Regions from separate parts of the Homo sapiens genome. Here region 2 is linked to region 1. The links are contacts of gene promoters, found by promoter capture Hi-C in human tissues and cell types (Jung and others, 2019). All regions are on one chromosome and are shown on one strand. The core of a region is centred on a gene start or on the middle of the fragment in contact, and the rest is flanking DNA. Distances in the headings are between cores, read along the strand shown. Region 1 holds the start of CCNL2 (cyclin L2). Region 2 holds the start of LINC01342 (long intergenic non-protein coding RNA 1342).

Region 1 (6,182 bases), core at 1,616-4,115:
ACTTTCAAATCTTTGGCTGCCTTGGCCAGTAGGAGGCGACACGAAGGATTTGCTGCTGCCTTGGGGGATGGGAAGGAACCTGAAGGCATTTTTTCCAGAGTGGTGCAGTACCACTGAGGACTGTTGCTGTATTGATTAGGAAAAGAGACAGAGTAATTTGCAGTTTGTTTGATTTATACTTTTGTTTATCTACAACCCAATAACAGACATGAGGGATGGCCCTGTCTCTCTGGGACAGAGCCTCACAGATGATGTCCATGTTTTGTGTGAATGAAACTCAAACACTCTTCAGTTTTTAGAGTCATTTTCTGGTATCGAGCGACCACACCGAGGAGCACACCCTGCTTCCAAGGCTGCTGCCTTCTGCACACAGTGGGGGATCCCCACCCACCCTGGCTCCCCTCAAGGGCTGCGTGCACAGTGCCCGCTTTCCAGTTACCTGACCCACCCTGAGTCCCTATTCCATTTTGCTCGGGGCTGACCTCAGACATGCCCTGTGGCTCAGCTCTGCCACTACTCAGAACACCAGCCTCAGCTTCCCTATGTCCCCCAGATTCAGCAGCCCAGCAGGGATTGGGGGAAATGCTCCCACATCAGGTGGGTGGTGGCCTGGTCCCTGCAGACTGGACTGGCTTTTCAGCCATCTCCAGGAAGCAACACCTAGCAGACAACTGTCCCTTAACCCCAAGGGTGATGCACACTTCTCCCCTGGTCTTTCTGCCCCCCGATGCCCCTACATTTACACAGCAGTGCGCAGACCCTTGCCGCAACCTGCTTGTCTTGCTGACCCTGCTGTAGGAGCGCCTAAACTGAGTGCCCGTCTCCCCTCCAAAGGCAGCTGGCTTGAATCCTGTGGGAACGTGCCCTTCACCCTTTGCCAGCAGTTGCTGGGGAGTCTTTCCGGCCCCTTTCTCAGACTCACCACCTACCTCCAACCTGCGCAGAACAATCAGCGTCCTGACCACTTGCTAGAGATGGCTTCAGGCCGACCACTCCATCCTCACTGCAGGCCTTCATTCCTTCTGGCTTCCATCACTGCATGGCCCCCTAAGAGGTCCCCCTCCTGGCCCTTGTCACTGTGCCTCATGACAGCCACTACGCCCTAAGCCTTTGGAGGCCAGGGACAAAGTCTCGTTCACTGTCCTTTCCGCTGCATGAGTGCAGTGTCTGGCCAGGTGCACGGGGCACTCAGTGCCTGTCAGCCCTTGGTAAACAGTCCTGGACAACAGGGTCAAGGACAGAGCCCTGGGCGGCCACATTCGGTGCGTGCTCCTGTGTTGTGGCAAAGCTGCCTTTTCTGCGTTTCATGTCAGTGAAGGAAGACAGGGATGTGGCAGAGCCCTGCGGGTTGCTCCCATCACTCACTCGGTTTGTGCCATAGTCCTCCTGTTCCCAGGCGGTCCCAGGGCCTGCCCCTGATGGGCTGGAGGCACCACCAACCTCCCACTCCTCTGGCAGTCACAGCTCAGGGAATGGGCAAGCAGCACCAATGAGAAACCAGCTGTGTGGTGGGGTTTCCAGAGAAGAGGAAATTCCTTCTTTCCTGGAGAGCGTGCAGCTGTAACTCACAGACGAGACATCCCTGAGCTACCAGCCTGGGGAAAGAGGACATGAGTAAAGCTGTAACCATACCGTGTTACCCATAACAGGCGGTGAGGAGAGTGGGTTTTGGTTGGCACTGTTTGAGCTGCAGTATCAAGTCATGGCAGAGCTAGTGGACAGCTGACCTGGGGGTGGGGGTGAGGAGCAATGGTGGCTTCTGAATTTGAGCCCGTCTGAGCTGGGCAGTTACTGGCAGCTCAGTGTGTGAACCTGCAACCACTCAGGCCTCTGCTGCCCTTCCCTCTTCCTGCCTCACCGTTCCCTGCCCCACGCAGGCTTCCCCACCATCCTCACCCGTGGTCCTGTACTAGTCCTGGCAAAGGTTCCGGTAACTGCAGCAACAGATACCTCCTGCCCCTCCTGCACAGCTGTGGTCGATCGCAGGACAGCCGCAGGTGATGAAAAACCGTGAACCCAGGACGGGCAGGGCGTGAGACCGCCTGCGGGAGGATCAGCGATGTCAAGACGTTACAAACGCACGAACCCCCTCGCCGTCTCCCTGGCGTTTGTGAGGTCCTGTCCAAGCTCCTTCACACGTAGATCACCGGGCCTCGCTCCCCCGACTCCTTCCGTGGGCCTGAACCTTGAGGTACTTAGGCCTCCCCACGCTGGAGGGGCTCTGTAGGGACGTCGAGGCCACGTTTCCAGTCATCCCTCCACCCGTCTCTCCCCAGGGGCTGAGTGTTGAAGGCAAGACTTTGCAGGAGTCTGGCGTTAATACGCATCCCCAAAGTCTGGAGTCGATAAGGACTGAAGACACGACGCCGACGGCGGCCGGGGGACACCGGGCATGCGCGTCTCATCCAGGGGGAGGCCGAGCGGAGCCTCTGACCCTGCCCCGCGCCCAGGGTTCAGCAGTGGGGGTCGTCCCGCCCCAGATCCCACCGAGATGGCCCCCCTTGACCCACAGGCCTTTCGAGACGCGAGCTTCCGCGATCCGGGGTCTCTGTGCGAACGTGGGCATCTTGGAAGAGTCCCAGCCCCGCTCGGGGCGCACAGGCAGGCGCTCTCAGCACGGCACCCGCGCCTCCGCTAGGGACAGACATGCTTCCGGGTCGGCCGGCACCGCGGAGTCCCCTGGGTAACGAGCCCGCCCCACCCGCGCCAGGTTCCGGCGTCGGCGTTAGGCGCGTTGCTGACGGGCAGGTTATGTAGCCAATTGCGGCTAGGCGGCGTCGCGCTGGTCGCGGGCCGAACCAATGGCACGCGACGGGGCGGGGCGGTGGCGGCCGTGGAGCTTCGCGAGGAGCCGCCCTGAGGGAAGAAGCCGAAGGGGAGTCGGCGGCACAAAATGGCGGCGGCGGCGGCGGCGGCTGGTGCTGCAGGGTCGGCAGCTCCCGCGGCAGCGGCCGGCGCCCCGGGATCTGGGGGCGCACCCTCAGGGTCGCAGGGGGTGCTGATCGGGGACAGGCTGTACTCCGGGGTGCTCATCACCTTGGAGAACTGCCTCCTGCCTGACGACAAGCTCCGTTTCACGCCGTCCATGTCGAGCGGCCTCGACACCGACACAGAGACCGACCTCCGCGTGGTGGGCTGCGAGCTCATCCAGGCGGCCGGTATCCTGCTCCGCCTGCCGCAGGTGAGGGCGCGGCCGCGAGCCTCCGGCCCAGGTAACCGCTGGGGCGGCAGCCGCCTTTGTTGGCGGCGAGTCGGGCCCGCACCGCCCCCGCCTAGACCCCGACCCCAGCCCCTGCCCCGACCCCAGCCTCGGCGCCATTCCCTAGCCAGCCCATGCCCCTGACCCGGGGCCTCCCCGCCCGCCAGTGCGCTGGATCCCGAGACGGCGGGACGCGAAGAGCCTTTGTGGACGTGGGAAGCGTTTCAGTGTTTGGTTCTGCGTGGGGAGTCCCACGTTACTCGATGACTTTCGGCCGCGAAGGCTTTGAATGGTGCGTTTGAAAATACGGAAACTTTCTTCTACTCTAGGTGGCCATGGCTACCGGGCAGGTGTTGTTCCAGCGGTTCTTTTATACCAAGTCCTTCGTGAAGCACTCCATGGAGGTAAGGCTTCCTCCTGCACTTCATTCCCAGCGAAGTATGTTGAGGGTAAAACGGTTTGTTACTTTGCCCGGTTACTAAGGGAGTGAGTACTTGCCCCCCAGTCTGAGCTCTGTGCCGGAGGGTTCTGTTTCTTGACTTTTTTTTTCCCCTGGGTGCACCTCCCTTTTGGTCTGAATAGCCCTCAAGCCTTTGGCGGCCGTCAGGACGCCGTGGCTGGGGACAAACATGGGCGTGTTGCAATGCTTCCGCTTCAGCATGTGTCAATGGCCTGTGTCCACCTGGCTTCCAAGATAGAAGAGGCCCCAAGACGCATACGGGACGTCATCAATGTGTTTCACCGCCTTCGACAGCTGAGAGACAAAAAGTGAGTCAGTCAGAGCTGTCTAGTCTATCATAGATGCCTATTTTCTTTATTTCTGATTAAGTTACAGTAAGGCTTGTATAACACAATACAGGCCTGAGGCTCTAAACCTGTGGGATATTCATGAGCGCAGTCTCAAGCTCCACCAACAGAGCCTGCTCAGAGGCATCAGTAGATGCGGTTTAGTAAGGGCAGGGGCTCCAGTGAGGACAGTGCGCTGTGGCGGGTCGCGCTGGGGCTGGCTTCCTGCTTTACCCATGTCAGTGCACGGCCCTGCTGCTGCTTCTGTCCCACAAGTTTCTGAGTGCTCTGGAGCAGGGAATCTTAATCTCAGCACTATTGACATTCAGGCTGGATAATCTTTTTTTTCCTCCTGAGACAGGTTTCCTGTTGTCCAGGGCAGAGTGCGGTGGTATGATCATGGCTCACTACAGCCTCAACCTCCTAGGCTCAAGAGTTTCTCCTGCCTCAGCCTCCTGAGTAGCTGGGACTATAGGAGCACGCCAACCATGCCAGCTAATTTTTATTTTTTATTTGGTAAAGATGGGGTCATGCTGTGTTGCCCAGGCTGGTCTCAAATTCCTGGGCTCCAAGGATTTGCTGGCCTTAGCCTCCCAAAGCACTGGGATTACAGATTTCAGCCACCGCATCTGGCTGGGTAATCTTTAGTTGTAGGGGATTCTCCTGTGTGCTGCAGGATTCAGCAACATCCCTGGTCTCGACTCACTGGATGACAGGAGTACCCCACCTTAGATGTGACAGCCAGAAATTCTCTCATACCAGATGTGGGAGCTCACACCTGTCATCTCAGCACTTGGGAGACTGAAAAAGGAGGTTTGCTTGAGGCCAGGAGATTGAGGCTGCAGTGAGCTGTGATGTCACCACTGCACTCCAGCCTGGACAACAGGGTGAGGCCCTGTTTCCAAAAAAAACGAAAGTCTGTTGATGTTGCTTCATGGCCCTGGAATAGTAAAATTTCTCCAGCAGAGAACCGCTGCCTCTGACCTTAGCCCAGGGTTTATGCACCTGAAGTTAATTGAAGTCCTTTAGAAAACACAGCCTCTGGCCGGGCTGGCCTGTAATCCCAGCACGTTGGGAGGCCTAGGCAGGTGGATCACCTAAGGTCAGGAGTTCGAGACCAGCCTAACCAATATGGTGAAACCCTGTCCCTATTAAGAACACAAAAATTGGCCAGGTGCAGTGGCTCACGCCTGTAATCCCAGCACTTTGGGAGGCCGAGGCGGGTGGATCACGAGGTCAGGAGATCGAGACCATCCTGGCTAACACGGTGAAACCCCGTCTACTAAAAATACAAAAAAGTTAGCCAGGCGTGGTGGCGGGTGCCTGTGGTCCCAGCTACTTGGGAGGCTGAGGCAGGAGAATGGCGTGAACCCGGGAGGTGGAGCTTGCAGTGAGCTGAGATCGGGCCACTGCACTCCAGCCTGGGCGACAGAGCAAGACTCCGTCTCAAAAAAAAATAAAAAAAAAATTAGCCGGGTGTGGTTGCGGGTGCCTGTAATCCCAGCTATTCGGGAGGGTGAGGCAGGAGAATCGCTGGAACCGGGGAGTTAGAGGTGCAGTGAGCTGAGATTGTGCCATTGCACTCCAGCCTGGGCAACAAAAGTGAAACTCTGTCTCAAAAAAAAAAAAAAAAAAAAAAAAAACAGCCTTGCCGAGCGCAGTGGCTCACGCCTATAGTCCCAGCACTTTGGGAGGCCAAGGCGGGTGGATCATCTGAGGTCGGGAGTTCGAGACCAGCCTGACCAACATGTAGAAACCCCATCTCTACTACAAATATAAAATTAGCTGGTCGTGGTGGTGCATGCCTGTAATACCAGCTACTTGGGAGGCTGAGGCAGGAGAATTGCTTGAACCTGGGAGGTGGAGGTTATAGTGAGCCAAGAGCGCGCCACTGCACTCCAGCCTGGGCAACAGAGTGAGACTCCATCTCAAAAAAAGAAAAAACATGGCCTCATCGGCCTCCCAAAGTGCTGGGGTTACAGGTGTGAGCCACTGCACCCAGCCCTTTTTTTTTTTTTTTTTTTCTGAGACGGACTCTCACTGTGTCTCACCGTGTCACCCAGGCTGGAGTGCAGTGATGCGATCTCGGCTCACTGAAACCTCCGCCTCCTGGGTTCAAGTGAATCTCCTGCCTCAGCCTCCTGAGTAGCTGGGATTACAAGCACCCGCCACCACGCCCGGCTAATTTTTGCATTTT
Region 2 (6,010 bases), core at 2,488-4,987, 260 kb after region 1:
CGGTTCGATGCTGACACCCCCACCTTCTGACCTCAGGAAGCTCCCCAGGACCCAGGTCCCCCGGTTCGATGCTGACACCCCCACCTTCTGAACCCAGGAAGCTCCCCAGGACCCAGGTCCCCCGGTTCGACGTTGACACCCCTACCTTCTGACCCCAGGAAGCTCCCCAGGACCCAGGCCCCCCGGTTCGACGTTGACACCCCCACCTTCTGACCCCAGGAAGCTCCCCATGACCCAGGTCCCCCGGTTCGATGCTGACACCCCCACCTTCTGACCCCAGGAAGCTCCCCAGGACCCAGGTCCCCCGGTTCGATGCTGACACCCCCACCTTCTGACCCCAGGAAGCTCCCCAGGACCCAGGTCCCCCGGTTCGATGCTGACACCCCCACCTTCTGACCCCAGGAAGCTCCCCAGGACCCAGGTCCCCCGGTTCGATGCTGACACCCCCACCTTCTGACCCCAGGAAGCTCCCCAGGACCCAGGTCCCCCGGTTCGATGCTGACACCCCCACCTTCTGACCCCAGGAAGCTCCCCAGGACCCAGGTCCCCCGGTTCGATGCTGACACCCCCACCTTCTGACCTCAGGAAGCTCCCCAGGACCCAGGTCCCCCGGTTCGATGCTGACACCCCCACCTTCTGAACCCAGGAAGCTCCCCAGGACCCAGGTCCCCCGGTTCGACGTTGACACCCCCACCTTCTGACCCCAGGAAGCTCCCCAGGACCCAGGTCCCCCGGTTCGACATTGACACCCCTACCTTCTGACCCCAGGAAACTCCCCAGGACCCAGGTCCCCCGGTTCGACGTTGACACCCCCACCTTCTGACCCCAGGAAGCTCCCCAGGACCCAGGTCCCCCGGTTCGGAGTCCTGCTTCCCCCGGATGCAGCTCAGGATGCCTCTGTGGGTGGTCCTGGGGCAGGATTCCTTCCCGCCTTGTGAACGGGGTCCCGCCCAGTGTGGCCCCTGGGGTCCAGAACCCGCAGGCTGGGCCCTCCCATGACCTGGAGGCCGTCCCATTGCAGAGATAGGGCCCTAGAGTTCACCTGCAACACTGCAAGCCCCAGGCCCCCCAACCTGTCCCCAGACGGGCAGGTCCGTCTTCAGAGAGCTTCTCCCTAAGTTCTCACACCGCAGAATCCCCCCAGACCTCCCCCAAGCACAGCGTGTGGTGCCCCAGCCCTCTGCTGTGGTGACCATTGCCTGAGGCACCGACAGTTGTGTCTGAGTGGGCCAGGCCCTATGGGTCACTCCAGCCACCTTCGCTGCCAGGTGGGACCAACTGTGGCCATCCCACCGCCCAGAGGATGTTCCTGCCCCTTCTCCTTTCCTTGGCCTTTTGTCACTTTTTTTTTTTTTTTTTTTTGAGATGAAGTCTCACTCTGTCGCCCAGGCTGGAGTGCAGTGGTGTGATCTCAGCTCACTGCAACCTCTGCCTCCCAGATTCAAGCAATTCTCCTGCCTCAGCCTCCCGAGTAGCTGGGATTACAGGCATGTGCCACCACACCCGGCTAATTTTTGTATTTTTAGTAGAGATGGGGTTTCACCATGTTGGCCAGGCTGGTTTTGAACTCCTGACCTCAGGTGATCCACCTGCCTCGGCCTCCCAAAGTGCTGGGATGACAGACGTGAGCCACCGCACCCAGCCAGCATTTTGTCTTTTCTAAAATGAATCCCCAGGCCGGGCACAGTGGCTTGAACCTGGGAGGCGGAGGTTGCGGTGAGCGGAGATCTCGCCCTGAGACCCCCCGCCCGCCCCCTGCTCATTCCCACCGGGCAGGAACTCGTGGGCACGACCTCCTCTCGCACAGCCCTGTCCTGAAGGCCTCCATGGGCTCCTGGGATGGGAAGACACCCCTGAGGCGTGAACTCCCTCCAGGCCACACAGGACGTGAGCCTGAACCCAGAGGCTGGGCCACACCTGAGCATGTGCCTGGTGGGAGAGGAGGGGTGCGAATCCCTTAGGGAACCCCTTCCTCTGAGAGTCCTCACTCCTGCTGGCAGGCTCAGGGGTCCCCACTGCAATGGCCAAGACCCCCTGCAGGGCCCACCCCACTCACTGCTGGGGGAACCAGACCTCCTGGACAGAGGACCCCGGGCCCCGCCCCAGGACCCAGCCAAGGGCTGGGCTGGGAGGGAGAGGGGGAGGGAGGCGGGGAGGGTACACGCCCAGTCGCAAGCCCTCCAGGCTTTAAAGCTGTCCAATGGCAGCAGGCTGCTGTGAATGGGGTCCGACACAAATTTGTAAACCTTCTTAAAACATAAAACATAATGGGATTTTTTTGGCAATTTTTTTTTCGCTCATCAGCTATCGTTAGTGTATTTTATGTGTGGCCCAAGACAATTCTTCCAATGTGGCCCAGGGAAGCCAAAAGATCGGCCACCCCTGCTTTAAAGCACCTGCCCTGTTCCCGGAAACCCCCAGCCGGGACTGACGGGTGACTTCAGTCCAGAGGGTGCACAGCCTGCGGGTTCCGGGGAGGGGCCGCGTGGGGGGTTCTCGACCGCAGCCCTCCCACCCCAGGGCCACAGAGAGCCTGCGGGGGGCGGGGCTGAGTGTCCCGGGCCCCCAAAACCCGGCCCAGCGGGGGCAGGGTCCCCGCATCCTCGCATCCTCGGGGTCCGGCCCCTCGTCGCGTGTCCCGGGCTCTGGGCCCCGCCCGCCCCCCTGGCGCCCCCACCCCACGCCGGCCTCGACCCCCGCCACGGTTCCTCCGGTCTTTCCCTGAGTGTGCGCAGGAGGACGGGAGCTCCCAACGCACCGCAGAGGGGGCAGGGGGACCCCCAGGACCCGCCCTCCCGGCACCGCCTTTGTCCCCGCGCACCTGGCGGGGCTCGGGTTTCCCGGGCGGCGCTCGCTCCGGCCGCGCCCTCCCCGCCCTGGGCTCCCCCAGCTCTCGGTGGGCGCCGCGTCGTTAGCTGGAAACCAAAGAAGGGGCGCGACCGAGCCAGGCAGGTGGCCCAGAGGCCCAGGTGCAGCCCCTGCCCCGCCCAGGGCCCGACCATCCCAGCCCAGCCAGCGGGGGTGTGGGGTCCCCACCATCCCACAAAGGCACGTGGGGCCAGGTCCTCAAACTGACCACCCGGCCGCCCCTCCTGCTGCCTCCCCCCAGGCCCCGCCAGTGCCAGGGAAAGGGTTAAGTCCACCTGGCGACCGCACCTTTGTTTGCCCGAGAGCTGCACCTGCGCCCCAATTAACGTGGGCAAATGAAGTGAGACCGGGTCCAACAGGAAAGGAACCGCCCTCCTGTGTGCCAGGCGGCCCGCAGGGACCCAGGGCAGGGCCGGCTCGACACGCCCTGCAGCTCCCACCTGACCCCCTCCTGCCTCCCATCAGAGAAGCTGAAGCTCCCTGTGCTGGATCCTACTTTCTCAGAAGGTTTTAGGCTGGCCACTCAGCACCCCACACAAACACAGCATCTGGCCTAGCTCCTCTGCCCTGCCCAGCACCCACAGGGCCTCCACCTCCACGCCCACCGTCCCCAGTCCCCACCCTCACCCCCATCACCGTGTTTCTCAAAGCCCTGTCCCTTCCCCTTCCCTCGACCACACCATAGGCCAAGGGTTGCAGTAGCCCCCAGCCCAGCCCCCAGGCACCCAGAGGGCTGTGAACAGTGGGCCCCAGGCACACAGGGGGCTGTGAACAGCAGCAGGCTCCTTTTGGCCTTGGCCCTCTCAGCATGCAGCCCCCTGTCTCTTCAGTGGAGTGAGAGGGGCCGGCCTCTTAGCCAGGACTGGTTTGTGCCACCAGGGACCACACCAATTCCAGACCTGGGTTTTGGCCCCTGGACAGAGTACAAAATGCAAAAGCAGAATTTCCAGAAGCCGGACCCTGTGAGCTGCAGAAGCCGGGCCCTGTGAGCTGCAGACAGAATGAGGCGTGTCGGGATGGGAGACACCCGTGCTTCCAGCATTGCAAGGAGAATGTGGAACGCTCCGGAACCCCTCACCCTCAGCCTTGCCCACGGGAGCTGGGGCAGTGGCCCCTGCCCACCTGCACTCACCAGCTGTCCTGGCAGCGTGAGACCAGCCTGGTTGAGGTCTTTATGTCAGAGACCTTTGAACCAGAGCAACTCCATCTTGCACAGGGCCTGGGTAAAATGAGGCTGAGCCCGGCTGGGCCACGTTCCCATGAGGTCAGGCATCCTTAGTTACAGGATGAGATAGGAGGTTGGCACAAGACTGGTCACAAAGACCCCGCTGATAAAACAAGATGCTGTGAAGAAGCCGGCCCCAAATCACCAAAACCAAGACAGCCAGTCCTCACTGCTCATTATGCGCTGATTATAATACATTAGCATGAGAGACACGCCCACCAGCACCAGGACAGTTTAGTTGCCACGGCAACGCCAGGACGTTACCCTAGATGGTCTAAAAGAGGGAGGAACCCTCACTTCTGGGAATTGCCTGCCCCTTTCCCAGAAAAGTCCGGAATAATCCACACCATGTTTAGTACATATCAAGAAACAACAATAAGTATTCTCAGTGGAGTAGCCCAGGCCGCTGCTCAGCCTATGGGGCAGCCCTTCTCTTATTCCTTTACTTTCCTATTAAACTTGCTTTCAGTTTATCAGTGGACTCCCCCAAACTGTTTCTTGCTCGAGGTCCAAGAGCCCTCTTTGGGATCCCTTTCCGGTGACATTTACGCCCAGGGAATTTGTGCCCAAATGCACAGATCAGGCCCCTACCCTGAGGGCCCCCACTGCCTGCGACCATCCCATTCCAGACTCTCCCAGGCCCCTCCCTGGGGAGGGAGGTGGCAAGACCCTGTATCCAGGCCCCCGTGGTGGAGTGGGGTCTCCCGAAGGCCCAAAGGATACGGGAGGAGCCCCCGGGTGGTCAGAGCATCGGGGCGGGGAGGGGACGGTGACCCCGGGGGATGGACAATGGCTGCAGCCAAGATATCTGCCTGGGGGAGGTGGGATCACGGGTGGGGTCTCCAGGAGTGGAGGCCTCGGTGGCTACACGGAGATTCAAGCCCTTTGACGCCGCAGGCAAAGTCAGCCAGGACCCCATGGGTCCGTGACTCAGGAAGGCCCCTGGGAAGCCAGCCATCGCTGCCCAGCCCCCAGGGAGCCTGGCGAGTAAGCCACCCCCTCACGGTGTCCCCCTCCTGAGAGGGGCTGCAGCCTCAGATGGCGAGGAAGCCACACCCCTCACGGTGCCCCCTCCTGAGAGGGGCTGCAGACTCAGATGTCAGATGCTGCTGCGGGATGTACCCATCGGGGAGCCTCCCCACGGGGCCACCTGCTACTGTGGGGCTCTGCGCCTGCACGGACCCCCACCGGCCTCCAAATGTGCAAACACAGGCGCCTCTCAGGCACTCTGGGCCCCTGTTCGGCGGAACGCTGAAAAGGGCTGGTGCCCATCCCACTGAGGGTCCTGCGGGCACCTCAGCAGGACAGCGGACCCCGAGGAGCTGGTGGAGACACCCAGGGCCCTGCGAGGCCTCAGCCTCCCCGTGTCGCGGGGCCGTGTGCAGGGTCTGGGTGTAGGGACAGCCACACTATGCCAGGCCTGCAGGAGACCCCTCCCCCCTGAGGCAGCCCCCTGGTCCCTCGGGGAACTGGATGTTACTGGTGCTCCCAGGACAGCACAGAACTGTTTAGGGAGGGAAGCACTGGTGACCTGTTCTGGTTTTTGAGAGTGGAGTCGGGGTGGCGAGGTGAGGGGGTGAACGGTTTGACAGTGGAGTTGGGGTGGCGGGGTGAGGAGGTGAATGGTTTGGGACAGGGCAGAAAGCAGACGCGGGCATGTGGGGAGGGGGGCGTGAGGGATTTCGCCATGCGGGGATGTTTTGACAGCACTGGTTACCTGAGGCCTGTATTTCTTTCTTTTTTTTTTTTTTTTTTGAGACGGAGTCTCGCTCTGTCGCCCAGGCTGGAGTGCAGTGGCCCCATCTCGGCTCACTGCAAGCTCCGCCTCCCGAGTTCACGCCATTCTCCTGCCTCAGCCTCCCGAGTAGCTGGGACTACAGGCGCCCGCCACCACGCCCAGCTAATGTTTTGTATTTT

The links. The method cuts DNA at HindIII sites, captures the fragments that hold promoters and counts their contacts. A contact is called where the count stands out against the background at its distance.
Region 2: a contact is called between a fragment that was not itself captured here and the fragment with the promoter of CCNL2 in region 1, in 1 of the 25 tissues and cell types used here (lymphoblastoid cells).

The regions. Positions count from the first base shown.
Region 1 is chr1:1,396,018-1,402,199 of GRCh38, reverse strand. It overlaps CCNL2 (cyclin L2), which reads left to right and starts at 2,865. Exons shown (of 11, transcript NM_030937.6): 1 at 2,865-3,181; 2 at 3,529-3,603; 3 at 3,858-3,967. The coding sequence starts at 2,894. MRPL20-AS1 (MRPL20 antisense RNA 1) reads right to left here and starts at 2,670. Exons shown (of 3, transcript NR_015434.1): 1 at 2,511-2,670; 2 at 1,897-2,042; 3 at 154-1,595. MRPL20 (mitochondrial ribosomal protein L20) reads left to right here. Exons shown (of 4, transcript NM_017971.4): 4 at 1-291. The coding sequence ends at 117. RefSeq lists an enhancer at 1,384-1,927 and silencers at 2,313-2,372, 2,663-2,902, 2,973-3,152. The HindIII fragment of the contact is 25,727 bases long and covers 1-5,698 here.
Region 2 is chr1:1,133,922-1,139,931 of GRCh38, reverse strand. It overlaps LINC01342 (long intergenic non-protein coding RNA 1342), which reads right to left and starts at 2,915. Exons shown (of 3, transcript NR_038869.1): 1 at 2,822-2,915. All of the region lies in intron 1 of LOC124903820 (a long non-coding RNA gene), which reads right to left. RefSeq lists enhancers at 584-1,083, 1,084-1,585, silencers at 2,117-2,216, 2,287-2,366, 2,427-2,616, 2,717-2,966, 2,987-3,046 and a cis regulatory region at 3,998-5,082. The HindIII fragment of the contact is 9,857 bases long and covers 1-6,010 here.